Regions from separate parts of the Homo sapiens genome. Here regions 1 and 3 are each linked to region 2. The links are contacts of gene promoters, found by promoter capture Hi-C in blood cells and fetal thymus (Javierre and others, 2016). All regions are on one chromosome and are shown on one strand. The core of a region is centred on a gene start or on the middle of the fragment in contact, and the rest is flanking DNA. Distances in the headings are between cores, read along the strand shown. Region 1 overlaps PALS2 (protein associated with LIN7 2, MAGUK p55 family member). Region 2 holds the start of CCDC126 (coiled-coil domain containing 126). Region 3 overlaps PALS2 (protein associated with LIN7 2, MAGUK p55 family member).

Region 1 (3,913 bases), core at 862-3,361, 1.1 Mb before region 2:
AAATACTCAGGAATAAATGTGACAAAAGCAGCATAATATTTGTACAATGAAAACCATAAACAGCATTAAAATGAAAACCTAAATAAACAGAGAGACATCTATGCTCATAGACTGGAAGAATTAATACTGTTAATATAGCACCTGTAATCCCAGCACTTTGGGAGGCTAAGGCAGGCAGATCACCTGAGGTCAGGAGTTCGAAACCAGCCTGGCCAACATGGTGAAAGCAAGTCTCTACTAAAAATACAAAAAAAATTAGCCAGGCAGGATGGTGGGTGCCTGTAATCCCAGCTACTGGGGAGGCTGAGGCAGGAGAATGGCTTGAATCCAGGAGGTGGAGGCTGCAGTGAGCCGAGATCATGCCATTGCACTCCAGCCTGGGCAACAGAGCAAGACTCCATCTCAACAAAACAAAACAAAACAAAACAAAACAAAACAAAACAAAACAAAACAGATGGCAGTAGTCCTCAAGGCCAAGTTACTGGCATTTCTATATAAATTATAAGATAAGCTTCCAATTGCTGCAGAAAAGGTAGCTAGAATTCAATATAATCCCTCTTAAAATTCTAGCTACCTTTTCTGCAGAAACTGGAAGCTTATCTTATAATTTATATAGAAATGTCAGGAACCCAGAAGAGCCAAAACAAGCTGAAAAAGAAAGAACAAGTTGGGTTCACAATTCCTGGTTTTGAAACTTAATACAAATATACAGTAATCGAGACAATGTGGGACTGGCATAAGGACAGACATCTAGGTTAATGGAACAGAACTGAGGGTTTATAAATAAATCTTGACATTTACAATCAATTGATTTTCAAAAAGGGTGGCAAGACAATCCACTGGAGGAAAGAACTATTCTTTTTGACAAATTGTGTTGTGACAACTGGATAAGTGCAAGCAAAAGAATAAAGTTGGAACCCCCTCCTCACATTTGACACAAAAATGAACACAAAATTGATCATATAATCTGCATGTAAGAGTCAGTAGTATAAACTCTTAAAATAAAATACAGGAGTAAAATTTTGTGGCCTTGGGTTAGGGAAAGCCTTGATATGGTACCATACTTGATACGATATGAAAAGCATGAGCAACAAAAGACATATAAATTTGGACTTCATCAAAATGAAAAACTTTTGTATATCAAAGGACACCATCAAAAACACGAGAAGTCAACAAAGAATGAGAGAAAATATTAATACGTGCAAATCATATCTAACAAGGAACCTGTACCCAGAATATAATATGACCTCCTCTTACAGCTTAAGAAAAGGACAAATAACCTAACTGAAAAATGGGCAACCAGTTTGAACAGACATTCCTCCAAAGAAAATATATAAATGGCAAATATGTACATGAAAAGTTGTTTGACATGATCAGACATTAGGGAAATGCAAATGAGAACCAAAATGAGATACAACTTTACACCCACTAGGATGACTACAATCAAAAAGCCAGATGACAAATGTTGGTGAGGATGTAGAGAAACTGGAAACTTCATATGCTGCTGGGATTGTGAAGGGTATATACACAGCTGCTGTGGAAAACAGTGTGGAAGTTCTTCTAAAGGCTAAACATACAGTCATCATATAACCTACAAATTCCATTCCAAGGTATATACCCAAGAGAAACAGGCATATGTCCACACAAATACCTGTATACAAATGCTGAGTGTAGCATTATTCACAATAGCTAAAAATAAAACAGTCCAAATGTCCATCAACTGATGAATATATAAATAAAATGTGGTATAGCCATATAATAATCACTTAGCAAGGAAAAGAAAATAAGTACTGATAAATGCTACAATGCAGATGAGATCTGACATGTTAAGAAGCCAGTCACAAAACACCACATATTGTATAACTCCAGTATATAAAATGTCCAAAATAAGCAAATCTATTTTGACAGAAAGATTCATGATTGCTCCTGGCAGCAGGGGGTGAGGAAGTTGGTGGGAAATGGGTACAGAGATTCTTTTGGCGATGATGAAGACGTTGTAACAGCTTTTGAATTTTACAATCCAGAATTCTATTCTCTGCTAATTAGTCAAATAAAGGGCAGAAAATATACATTTTAAAACACAAAGATGCAGACATTACATTCCACATACAAGAGGATGTACCCCAGCAAAACAAGGTGATAAACCAAGAAAGAGAAAGAATGGGATCCAGGAACAACAGCTTCAACCCAGGATAACAACAAAGGGAACTACTCCAGTGTTAACAGCTGGGCAGCCAGAGAGACAGCATGTAGTCCTCATTGAAGCAGAAAGACAGAGGGTTCTGAGACAGAGGTCTCCAGGAAAAAAAAAAAGAACCTGACTTACTGGATAAACAAGTCTTTAGTTTAAAAAACAACAAAAAACTGTATACACATATATATATAAAATCAGGTAGTATAAAGAAAAACAGAACTCCAGAGATTCCTGGGTCACAGAAGGGGAAAGGGCTGTTCAAGAAAGTGAAATTGAACTAACTGAAAATACAGCTATCTTTATATTGGAAGGACAGTCAGGAAGTCAACAGATAAGGCCTAAACTGCATAAAGCAGGAAACAGCAGACTAAAGACATTATTAAGAAATATGGAACACAACCAAAAGAAATAGCAAAAACAATGAAAAGTGACTGTTTTTCATAAGTGAGGCAGGGGAAGAGAAGGGGTTATTTTTTTCCCCATTATATGTCTTTAAGAACTACTTGCTAAAAATATTGGGCACATATGAATTTGATAAAAGCGAAAAACTTTTTACTTCACAAGTGCAGCTTTAACATACGTTGATTACAGTGAAGTTTTTGTTCTGTTAACCACTTTAGTAGGATTTGTCTAAATTTAGTGATTTACAATGCCTGCAGTAGAATCAGAAGATTTACACTGAAGGGATTATAAGTAGCACAGGGGGGCAATGACAAGGCTATTTCCCTAACTTTTAAGAATTTTAGCAATAAGAGTACTCACTGAGAATTAAACCCAAAATATACTGGACAAAACCAGGGAAACTCTAAAATTCAATTAAAAGAGATAGGGTTAAAGTTAGCCTAGGATTTGACTCAAAATAGCTTAAAGGCATTAATATACCTAAAGGAATGCCATGTTAAAAGGGGGCTTGGTCAGAAATAGAAGCACAGCAATGGGAATGAAAGCAATGTTAGCTTATCTCCTGCTTTCTTCAAGGGAGAGAACATCTAAGTTCACAAGTAAAGATCCACGTATTTCAAAAACAAAGACAAATGTTTATTAGTCCCTACAGTCAGAGACAAATGTGTATTAGTCATTACAGTAAATCACTAACATCATCCAATTCCTTGATCTAATTCCATTCTCATCAAGCATACTTCTGACATGATTATTTAACTTTCTATGTAAATATGCAAATAGAGAAATGAATGCAAAGACCATAAAATGAGTGCTTGGTTCACTTAATGGTTATACTTCTCATCAGTACTATTTTATTCTATACATCAGACTCTGTAACCTTAATGAATGCTGCCTGCAGTAAAAGATGAATCACTCTTATGTGCTATCAAAAATCAGGTTTATGACCTTGCATGACTGAGAGCTACAAGCCAGGCCACGTAAGTTCACACAGCTGTTGCCACACTGGGTATGTCCAAGGGTCAGAAGCTTTCCCCTTTTCTTTACACTAAAATGGCTGAAAAATCCAACTTTTTAGATAGACATCAGTACAAGAAAATCCTAAATGCCTATCTTGCCACGAGTCTTAAATGTAGGCATTTAATTCTAACATTTCTGAACTGAATAGTTTAGAGAAGCACTTGCCACCAGACAGCAAGCCAACAGCACTGCAGCACTATTTCAAGACAGCTACAGAATTACTAAATTTTTCAATGTCTTTTACTTGTTCACTTTCACTGCCATAAAGAAAACTTATTTGGGAATAACAATAACTAATGA
Region 2 (4,391 bases), core at 1,692-4,191:
CACTGCCTTGAGAGAAGCTACACTAAAATTCCAGCTAAGATACGGAAATAATGAGTGTCAAGATATCAGATCATTTTTAGATGGCACATTTGGGAGACAGAATAGAAGACAATAGCACTGAATATTACAAAAACAGATAAAAGAAAAATGGTAAAGTGAGGCAGGGATAAAAACAGAAAATGTTAAGGCAAAAAGAAAACTAACCATTATGCTACAGTAAAAGTTTAATTTAAAATATGGCCTGGCGTGGTGGCTCATGCCTGTGATCCCAGCACCTTGGGAGGCTGAAGAGGGCGGATCACTTGAGGTCAGGCATTCAAGACCAGTCTGGTCAACATGGTGAAACCCCATCTCTACTAAAAATACAAAAATTAGCCAGGCATGGTGGTGCATGCCTGTAAACCCAGTTACTTGGATGGCTGAGGTACAAGAATCGCTTGAACCTGGGAGGTAGAGGATGCAGTGTGCAGAGATCGCACCACTGCACTCCAAGCTGAGTGAAAGAGCAAGGCTGTCTCAAACTAAACTAACTAAACTAAAATATGCAATAAAATAAACTATGCAGGCCGGGCTCCAGGGCTCACACCTATAATCCCACCATTTGGGAAGCTGACATAGGCAGATCACTTGAGGTCAGAAGTTCAAGACCAGCCTGACCAACATGGTGAGACCCTGTCTCTACTAAAACTACAAAAATTAGCCAGGCATGAGGTACAAGAATTGCTTGAACCCAAAAGGTAGAAGTTGCAGTGAGCCAGCACCACTGCACTACAGCCTGGGTGACAGAGTAAGACTCTGTCTCAAAAAAAAAAAACAACAAAACCTATATATATACATATACATAGACACACACTATGCAGCACTAGATACTTCAATCACAGAGCTTCACCTGTCACAGCCGTGGCCAATCATGTTTTGTGCCACATGTCCCCACCTCCCCTTCCAAAGCCAACTAGGCTAGCATCTCTGGCCTCAAACAAAGAGGCCCCAGGGAAAACCAGGCAGTTGGCAGAAGGAGCTGAAGGAGAAGTCATGAAAATAAATAATAAAGTTGGATGAGGGGATTGACAAGCTAAAGTTATGAAGAATCAGGCACAACAGGTATAGGGGCTATGAGCAAAAGATACAGAGTAGGGAGAAAGAGAACAAAGCATGTCAAAAATGCAGAGAAACTGTGCAGCTCATGAGAGAGTGATAACTGGCTGGTAGAGATTCTTATTTCTGGCAGCTTTCTTGTTCTCTTAAATGTATTCCTTCTTTCAAGGTAGTTTGAAAGAATTATATGACCTGAAGCAGGAAGAAACACTAAGAACACAAATGACTAAAAGGGTTTACACAAATTTTGTTTCCACATTTAAAAAAAAACCTCTAAAAACCTTTATCATTGAAAGTCTGAGCTAGAAGAGTCCTTGGAATCAGACCAATTCACTATTTTAGAGATGAGGACATTGAGGACCACAAAGTAATCTCAGGTTACACAGATAGTGACAGAGCAAGGACAAAACTAAGGACTCCTATTTCCGTAGCCATTACTCTCTGTCCTACACTGCACTAAATAACACCAACATAGAAACATTTTCCTCAAAACAAGTATTTTTGCAACACATTTTAGAGTGAGAAATTATTAATCAGTGAGAAGATGCAGACAGATGTAGAAAAAAGTTGACCCAGGTTAAATATGGTGAAGCCCAGAGGCAGGACTGTAAAATACCTGGATGCCTACTCTGACGAAACAAACACTTAGCGCCTCTAAGGATTCCCAAAGGACACACCTGAGGGGGAGGGGAGAGGTGAATACTTGTACCTCTGAAGCTGATCCACAGAAAAGCAGAGTCATCAATTTCCTAAGAACATTCTCAGCCATCTTAAAACAGCAAAAATTAGGAAGACGGCATATTTTAATGAATCCTTTGGTTAGGTTTAAGATAAAGTGAAGAACACACAACCCAGGATGATTAAACAAACAAAAGCACAAAACTCAAGTCCAGAGGCCACTTCGGTCACTTCAGTCATAGCTAATGAAAGTATCACAAAGGATCTTTTCATCAAATGAAGAACTAATGACGTTATAGGTCTATATTCCTAATTCTAACCACTTACAGGTGTGTGTTTTGATGGATGAGAAAACTCAAGCTTAGAGCCTTTAAGTAACCAAGATCACCAAGGCAGGCAGTGAGAGAAACCCAGGCAGGATTCGAACCCTAGCTGGCTGAGCCATTCTCATTACCGTCACAGTCAACAATCAACACGGCAGTTTAAGTTCATCCTTACCAGTCACCCAGGAGATGAGTTTTGAAGAGGGAGTTTAAAAGGGGCATCTGACTTTCTCTCTCTCCCAAAGTAGAAGAGAACTGAGCTGTCAAAAACAGAAAAAGAAGTGAGTGCGGTGCCGCCCGGGATCTACATCCCGCAGCTCCGGACCAAGCCCGCCCCGCTCGACTCGCGCAGCCCCAGCCACGCTCGGCTCTCCGCCCGAGCCGAGGCGCCGCGGCTGTCAGACGCGGAGGGGCAGAGACGCGGCCCAAAGGAAGGGACAAAGAGCCTTCCCGGCCGCGGCCGGAGGCTGCCGGCCCGTTCCTAAGCCGGGTTTCCGCAGCAGCGGCCCTAGCGGGGCGGGGACCGGGGACGGGGGCGCGGCGGGGGAGGAGCGGCCGGCTAGGCTGAGGGGCGCGCGAGAGGTGCGGGCCCGGCTGGCGGACTCGCCCCTTACTCATTACCTGGCCGTGGGCTTCTCGTCACGGTCGCCGCCGCCACGGAGCTTCTGAGCCGGGGCGACGCAGCGAGAGCTAATAAGCGGGCGTCAGCTGCGTCCCACACTGGCGAAGCAGCCTCCAGATCGAGCTGGAGAAACGCCGGTGGGTGGGAGTTGGGACGAGGTTTGTTCCCAGCTTGTGGAGATTTTACTCCGCTCGTCCCTCGCACTCGGCTTCCGCTCCGCCTCCCTGCCGGCCCTTCCCGCACTCGGGGGCCAGCCGCCCGCGGCGCGCGGCATTGTGGGGGATGTAGTCCCAGAATGAGGAAGCGGCGGCACGTGCTTCCAGCCGCCCTGCACCTACCCTGGGTCAGAACGACGCAGCTGCGCGGCAACCAGAGAGGGCGGCGGGGTCTTCTGTGTTGGAAGATGAGCCCGCCAGAGGCATACCCTCGGCCTTAACTCGCTGCAGGCGCTGGAAGAAGGGCTCTGGCGTCTTGTTCCCGACCCTCCGGTGAGGAACCAACCTCCTAATACTATTGACCTGAGGCTGGGAAAGCTTAGTGATGATTAAGTGTGCTACAGATGAGACTACCCATTATTGAAGCCAAAGGTCCTTAGCCAGTGGAGTGAGGCAAGAAAAATAAAAGGATTGAAGATTAAATAGGAAGAAACAAAATTATTTTTTCATAGATTATGTAATTATGTACGTGGAGGCCGGGCGCCGTTGGCTCATGCCTGTAATCCCAGCAGTTTGTGAGGCCAAGACGGGAGGATCACCTGAGGTCGGGAATTCGAGACCAGCCTGGCCAACATGGTGAAACCCCGTCTCTACTACAGATACGAACTTAGCAGGGCGAGGTGGCGGACGCCTGTAATTCCAGCCTCTCGGGGAGCTGAGGCGGGAGAATTGCTTGAACCCAGGAGGCGGAGGTTGCAGTGAGCTGATATCGCGCCACTGCACTCCAGCCTGGGCAACAAGAGCAGAACTCCGTCTCAAAAAAAAAAAAAAATTGTTTGTGGCACTTCAAAACAATCTGCAGATAAACTGTTAACAATAAAAGTTTTTAACAAGGTTAATAGATACAAAAATCATATTTTAAAAAATCAATATTTATTTATATATGCTAGTAAAAAAGATAATTTTTTTAAAGATACCATTTCCAACAGCTCCAAACAAATATCAAGTACCTAGGAATAAATCGATCAAAGAAATGCAAAACCTGCCTGAAGAAAACATTGGAAGACACTGAAGAAGACCTAAATAAAGATGTAACATGTTCATAAATTGGAAGAGTCAATACTGAAAAATGCCAAGTCTCTCCAAACCTACCTACAGAGCCAGTGCAATTCCCAACAAAATCTCAATAAATTTCTGTGTATGTGTGAGAAACTTGACAAGCTAATTCAAAATGTTATGGAAGAGCAAAGACAAGCATTCATGAGGAAGAGGAGGAAGAAAAAAAAAGAAGAGGAGAAGGAGTGGGAGGAGGAAAACTTGTGCTACCGGATAACAAGCTTTATTATAGACTAGGCACGGTGGCCCATGCCTATGATCTCAGCACTTCGGGAGGCTGAGGCAAGTGGATTGCTTGAGCCTGGAGTTCAAGACCAGCCTGGGCAACATGGCAAAACCCCATCTGTACCCCCCAAAAAAATACCAAAGTCAGCCAGTTGTGGTGGCATGCACCTATAGTCC
Region 3 (4,251 bases), core at 175-2,674, 1.0 Mb before region 2:
AAAGTATACTTATCAATGAGTTAAAGAGATTACTCCAGAGTTGACTAGGGAAACAGACTTAAAATACCAGGCTTATGCAACAAATAACAAAATTTCAAAAAAGCACTAGATAAAGGAAGTCAAGAACTTACATGAAAAGTAGGTACACAGTCTAATGCAAAAGAAGAAAATCAGTACTTTGCCATTGTTGAAAATGGAAATAGGATCAGGATCTTTTTCACAGGCCCTGTTAAAACACAACTGTGCAGGTATGATTTCTCTAAACCTTAAAGGCATTACGCCAAAACTAAGAGTCATTTCATCCTGTATTTAAAGTCAGAGTAGAAAAGAGAAAAATGGTCTAATTTTTGCATATGTTAAGATTTCATTATGTGCTGAATGTTTTTATTTGCTAACTAAACCTAATGTATATCAACCAAATTCTAAAATAGTAATATCTGAAAATATCTCTATAAAAACTAAGTCCAAAATAATTCAGTAATCTTATGAATAAATCTATATACCTTAGCAAGTGATTTTACAATAGGATTCTCCATAATTCCCTTGAGGAAAATTAGGTCTATTTCTTCTGCTCCAGTAGACGAGGGCAGCTCCGTAAGGTTTTCCAAGACTTGCTGCATTGCTGCTGAGATAAAAGCAACATAAAAACAAACAAACAAACAAACAAACAAAAACCCTTAAATTTCAAGCCGTTATGGAGTAAGATTATTTTAATAATGCAACTAGACATTAAGAATACTCTTTGGAAAAATAACATTTTAAAAAATGAAATTGTTAAACAGTATGAGTTTCAAATTGACTTCCCAGGAATTAATAGCAGGATAGATTTTTATATGTAATTTGGACTTTATCAGACTACCTTACACATACTTACAACCTTGCACTTGCTCTGTATTTTTCAAATTTAAAAACATTACTCAAGAAAAAACAGAAAATTCAAACAGACTTATAAGAAGGAAAAAGTCTAATTTAGGAATCAGAAACTTCCCACAAGCTCAGAACCAGCCTTCACTGCTGAATTCTATCAAACAGTTAAAAAAGAATTAAAACCAATACTTCACAAACTCCTTCAAAAAAAAAAAAAAAACGGAAGAGAAGGAAACACCTTCCAACTCATTCTATGAGACCAATTACCCTGATACTAAACCCAACAACATCACACACAAAAAAATTACCACCAATCTCTCCTAGAAATACAAATGCAAAAATCTTAAACAAAATACTGAATCCAGTGACATATACAAACAATTGTACATAATGGCCAAGTTCACTTTATCCCAGGAATGAACGAGTGGTTCAACAGATAAAAACTCAACAGACTCTATTAATAAAACCAAGAACAAAACCAAATGACACTTCAGACAAAGAAAATCATTAGACAAAACCCAAAACTCTTTCATAATAAAAACATTCACCAAACTAAAAATAGAAGGGAAATTCTTCTCTCTGATAAAAGGCTTCTATGAAAAACCCACAGCTAATATCATACTTAATGGTGCTTTTACTCCTAATAAGGAAAAAAATAAGGCTGTACACTTTTGGCATTTTTATTCAACTTTGGATTAGAGGTTCTAGACAGGGCTGTTAAGCAAAAAAAAAAAAAAGAAAAAAGAAAATAAAGAAAAGGCATCCAGACTAGAAAGCAATAAGTAAAACAATTTATATTTGCAGATCATATGATTCTGTATATGGAAAATCCTAATATACAAAAATTTATTATCATTAATATGTGAGTTCACCAAGGTTTCAGTATACAAGATTAATACAAAACAACCAATATGTTGTTACACATAGTGTATTTCTATACACTGGTGACAAACAATCCAAAAATGAAATTAAGAAAACCATTCCTTTTACAGTAGCATCAAAGACAATAAAATACTGAGAAATAGATGTAACAGAAGTAGTACAAAATTTGTACAATGAAACTATAAAACATCATTGAAAGAATGAAAGAAGATCTAAATAAAGGGAATGACATCCCATGTTCATGGATCAGAGGACTTATTATTAAAATGGCAACAATTCCCAAATTAACCTACAGGTTTAATACACTCCCTATCAAAATCTGAACTGCCTTTTCTTTTTTTGTAGAAATTGACAAGCTCATTCCATTCATATGGAAACTCAAAAAAACCAGAATAGCCAAAAGAGTCTTCAAAAAGAACAACAAAGTTGGAGACCTCACACTTCTCAATTTCAAAACTTACTAAAAAGCTACAGTAATCAAGACTGTGTGGAACTAGCATATATACATACATACAACTAAACAACAGGCTAGAAACAAATCCATACATTTATGGTCAATTGATTCTGACAATGTGCCAAGACAATTCAATAAAGAAAAAAATAGTTTTTTCAACAGCTGGTGCTGGGACAACATATGTACATGTTAGAGAGTGACGCTAGACCCCTCCCCTCACTCAATATTATAATCTTAATTTTATTAGTTTTATCTCTTAGCTCATAGAATAAATCAACAGTAAATACAGAAGTCGTTTTTAATATTAACTTTTATTTTTATTAAAGTAAAATATAAACACTGTTAAAAGTCAGATTGTAGTACTAAATGGCTTATAAAATACAGTTTTCTGTTCCATGCTGCTTACCCTTCTCCCAACTTATCCTACTCCCAGAAGTAATTACTAGGAATTTAATTGTTTCTTCTAATCAGATCTGTTCGTAGTTTCTCTTCTTTCTGGATAATATGCTAATATTGCTACTTTGTGACTGACCCATTTTGGACATTATCTATTTTCTGTTAGAATACTAGAGGTTTCAGCTTTTACTTTCCCTATCTTCAGACTCTCAATTTTTAAAAACAAAATCAATAGTGTTTTTCATATGGAACTCTTAAGTTTTTTCCAAATGTTCCAACAAGCTTCTCACATTTTTACCAGTATTTTTCTAAATATTCAAATATTTTTCTAATACTCTATCAGACCTATTTCCTGTCTTCTATCCCTGATCTCCCTCACAAAGCATTCTCTTGTATGTTAACTTGGACAGGTTCATCCATGGGGGTTTCATGGATGACTGACAATTTTTGAAGGTAAAGAAGCGAACAAGAGGACAATGTGCACTTGACAAAGGAGAAGGAAAACAAGTATTGGATTAACATGAAGAAAGATGACATAAGAAGTAAAGAATATAAACTAAGCTACTTAGTAATTTTGCTTAAGGTCAACAAGTTACCTTTAAGTGGGCAGGGAACAATAGAATCAATTTTTAAAAGTACTTTTGTCCTGTGGCTATAAATGTGGTTAGCAGTACTTCCCATTATTTATTTTTCTTTCTTTTGACATTGTACATTTGTTTTTATTTTTAGCTTTTATTATGGAAAACTTCAAACATATGTGAAGAAAACAGAATAATATAATAAACCACACAATGATCAGCTCCAACAATTAGCAACTCATGGCCAATCTTGTTTCACACTCCTATATACTTTCTACCTTATATAACTTTGAAGCAAATTCCAGAAATCCTATTTCAATGTATATGTCTCAAAGATCAGCACTCCTTTTAAACAACATAACCAAAATACTGTTAGCAATAGTAACAAATTAGCAATACCTAGCAAATTAACAGTAATTCCTTAATGTTATCAAATGTTTAGTCAGTGTTCATAACGCCAGTTGTACTGAAGATTTTTAAAAAATGTACCTTCTGTATTGATTCTTGAAGTGCTTGTTTTTTTTTCAAATTGGTGTTTAAGTCAGTAGAAAAGTGAAAGAAATTGTGAAATAGATCTTTGGTTATTTTAAAGATCTTCATAAGTTGTTACTGACTCTTAATCATATGGAATTTAATCTAGAAATGGATAAACTTGACAACATCCCTTGTCCTGGCAAAGAAATCTCAAATATTATAATGCTGTCAATCATTCTCAAATTAGTTTGTATATTTGGTGGATTTATAGTCAAAATACAATACATAGTTCTTTTAAACTATATTATCCTAAAAGCATATGAAACGATAAAGAAAAACCATGTGACAAAATTATAACAAATAATGAGAGATGGGCCTAATCCCAACTTAGTACAAGTGATTCTGCAGTCTCTCACCAAAATGATGAACAATGGAATCTGAGCTGGTACCTTCTTACAGAAATCTCTCCTGCTGTTTAGCTGCTTAAAATGGAAATGGCTGTCCTTTGTTACCAAATCCCTTTCTTCTCCAAACTTCAAATAATGTACTTTCGTGATTTTTTTAAAGTAGCAAAATGATTTAGTCCTATAAAATATTAAA

What was found. The method cuts DNA at HindIII sites, captures the fragments that hold promoters and counts their contacts. A CHiCAGO score of 5 or more calls a contact.
Region 1: a contact is called between a fragment that was not itself captured here and the fragment with the promoter of CCDC126 in region 2, in 1 of 17 cell types (monocytes). The highest score is 5.2, in monocytes.
Region 3: a contact is called between a fragment that was not itself captured here and the fragment with the promoter of CCDC126 in region 2, in 1 of 17 cell types (erythroblasts). The highest score is 5.4, in erythroblasts.

Annotation. Positions count from the first base shown.
Region 1 is chr7:24,668,737-24,672,649 of GRCh38, reverse strand. The region is part of intron 9 of PALS2 (protein associated with LIN7 2, MAGUK p55 family member); the gene reads right to left. Among named protein-coding and RNA genes, the nearest start is that of GSDME, 87 kb to the left of the region's middle. The HindIII fragment of the contact is 3,027 bases long and covers 598-3,624 here.
Region 2 is chr7:23,595,932-23,600,322 of GRCh38, reverse strand. It overlaps CCDC126 (coiled-coil domain containing 126), which reads right to left and starts at 2,941. Exons shown (of 4, transcript NM_138771.4): 1 at 2,718-2,941; 2 at 2,272-2,356. It overlaps LOC105375187 (a long non-coding RNA gene), which reads left to right and starts at 2,998. Exons shown (of 2, transcript XR_927098.2): 1 at 2,998-3,206. RefSeq lists a silencer at 2,460-2,699. The HindIII fragment of the contact is 1,118 bases long and covers 2,136-3,253 here.
Region 3 is chr7:24,620,037-24,624,287 of GRCh38, reverse strand. PALS2 (protein associated with LIN7 2, MAGUK p55 family member) reads right to left here. Exons shown (of 12, transcript NM_001303037.2): 2 at 504-622. The coding sequence starts at 620. Among named protein-coding and RNA genes, the nearest start is that of PALS2, 49 kb to the right of the region's middle. The HindIII fragment of the contact is 2,918 bases long and covers 1-2,883 here.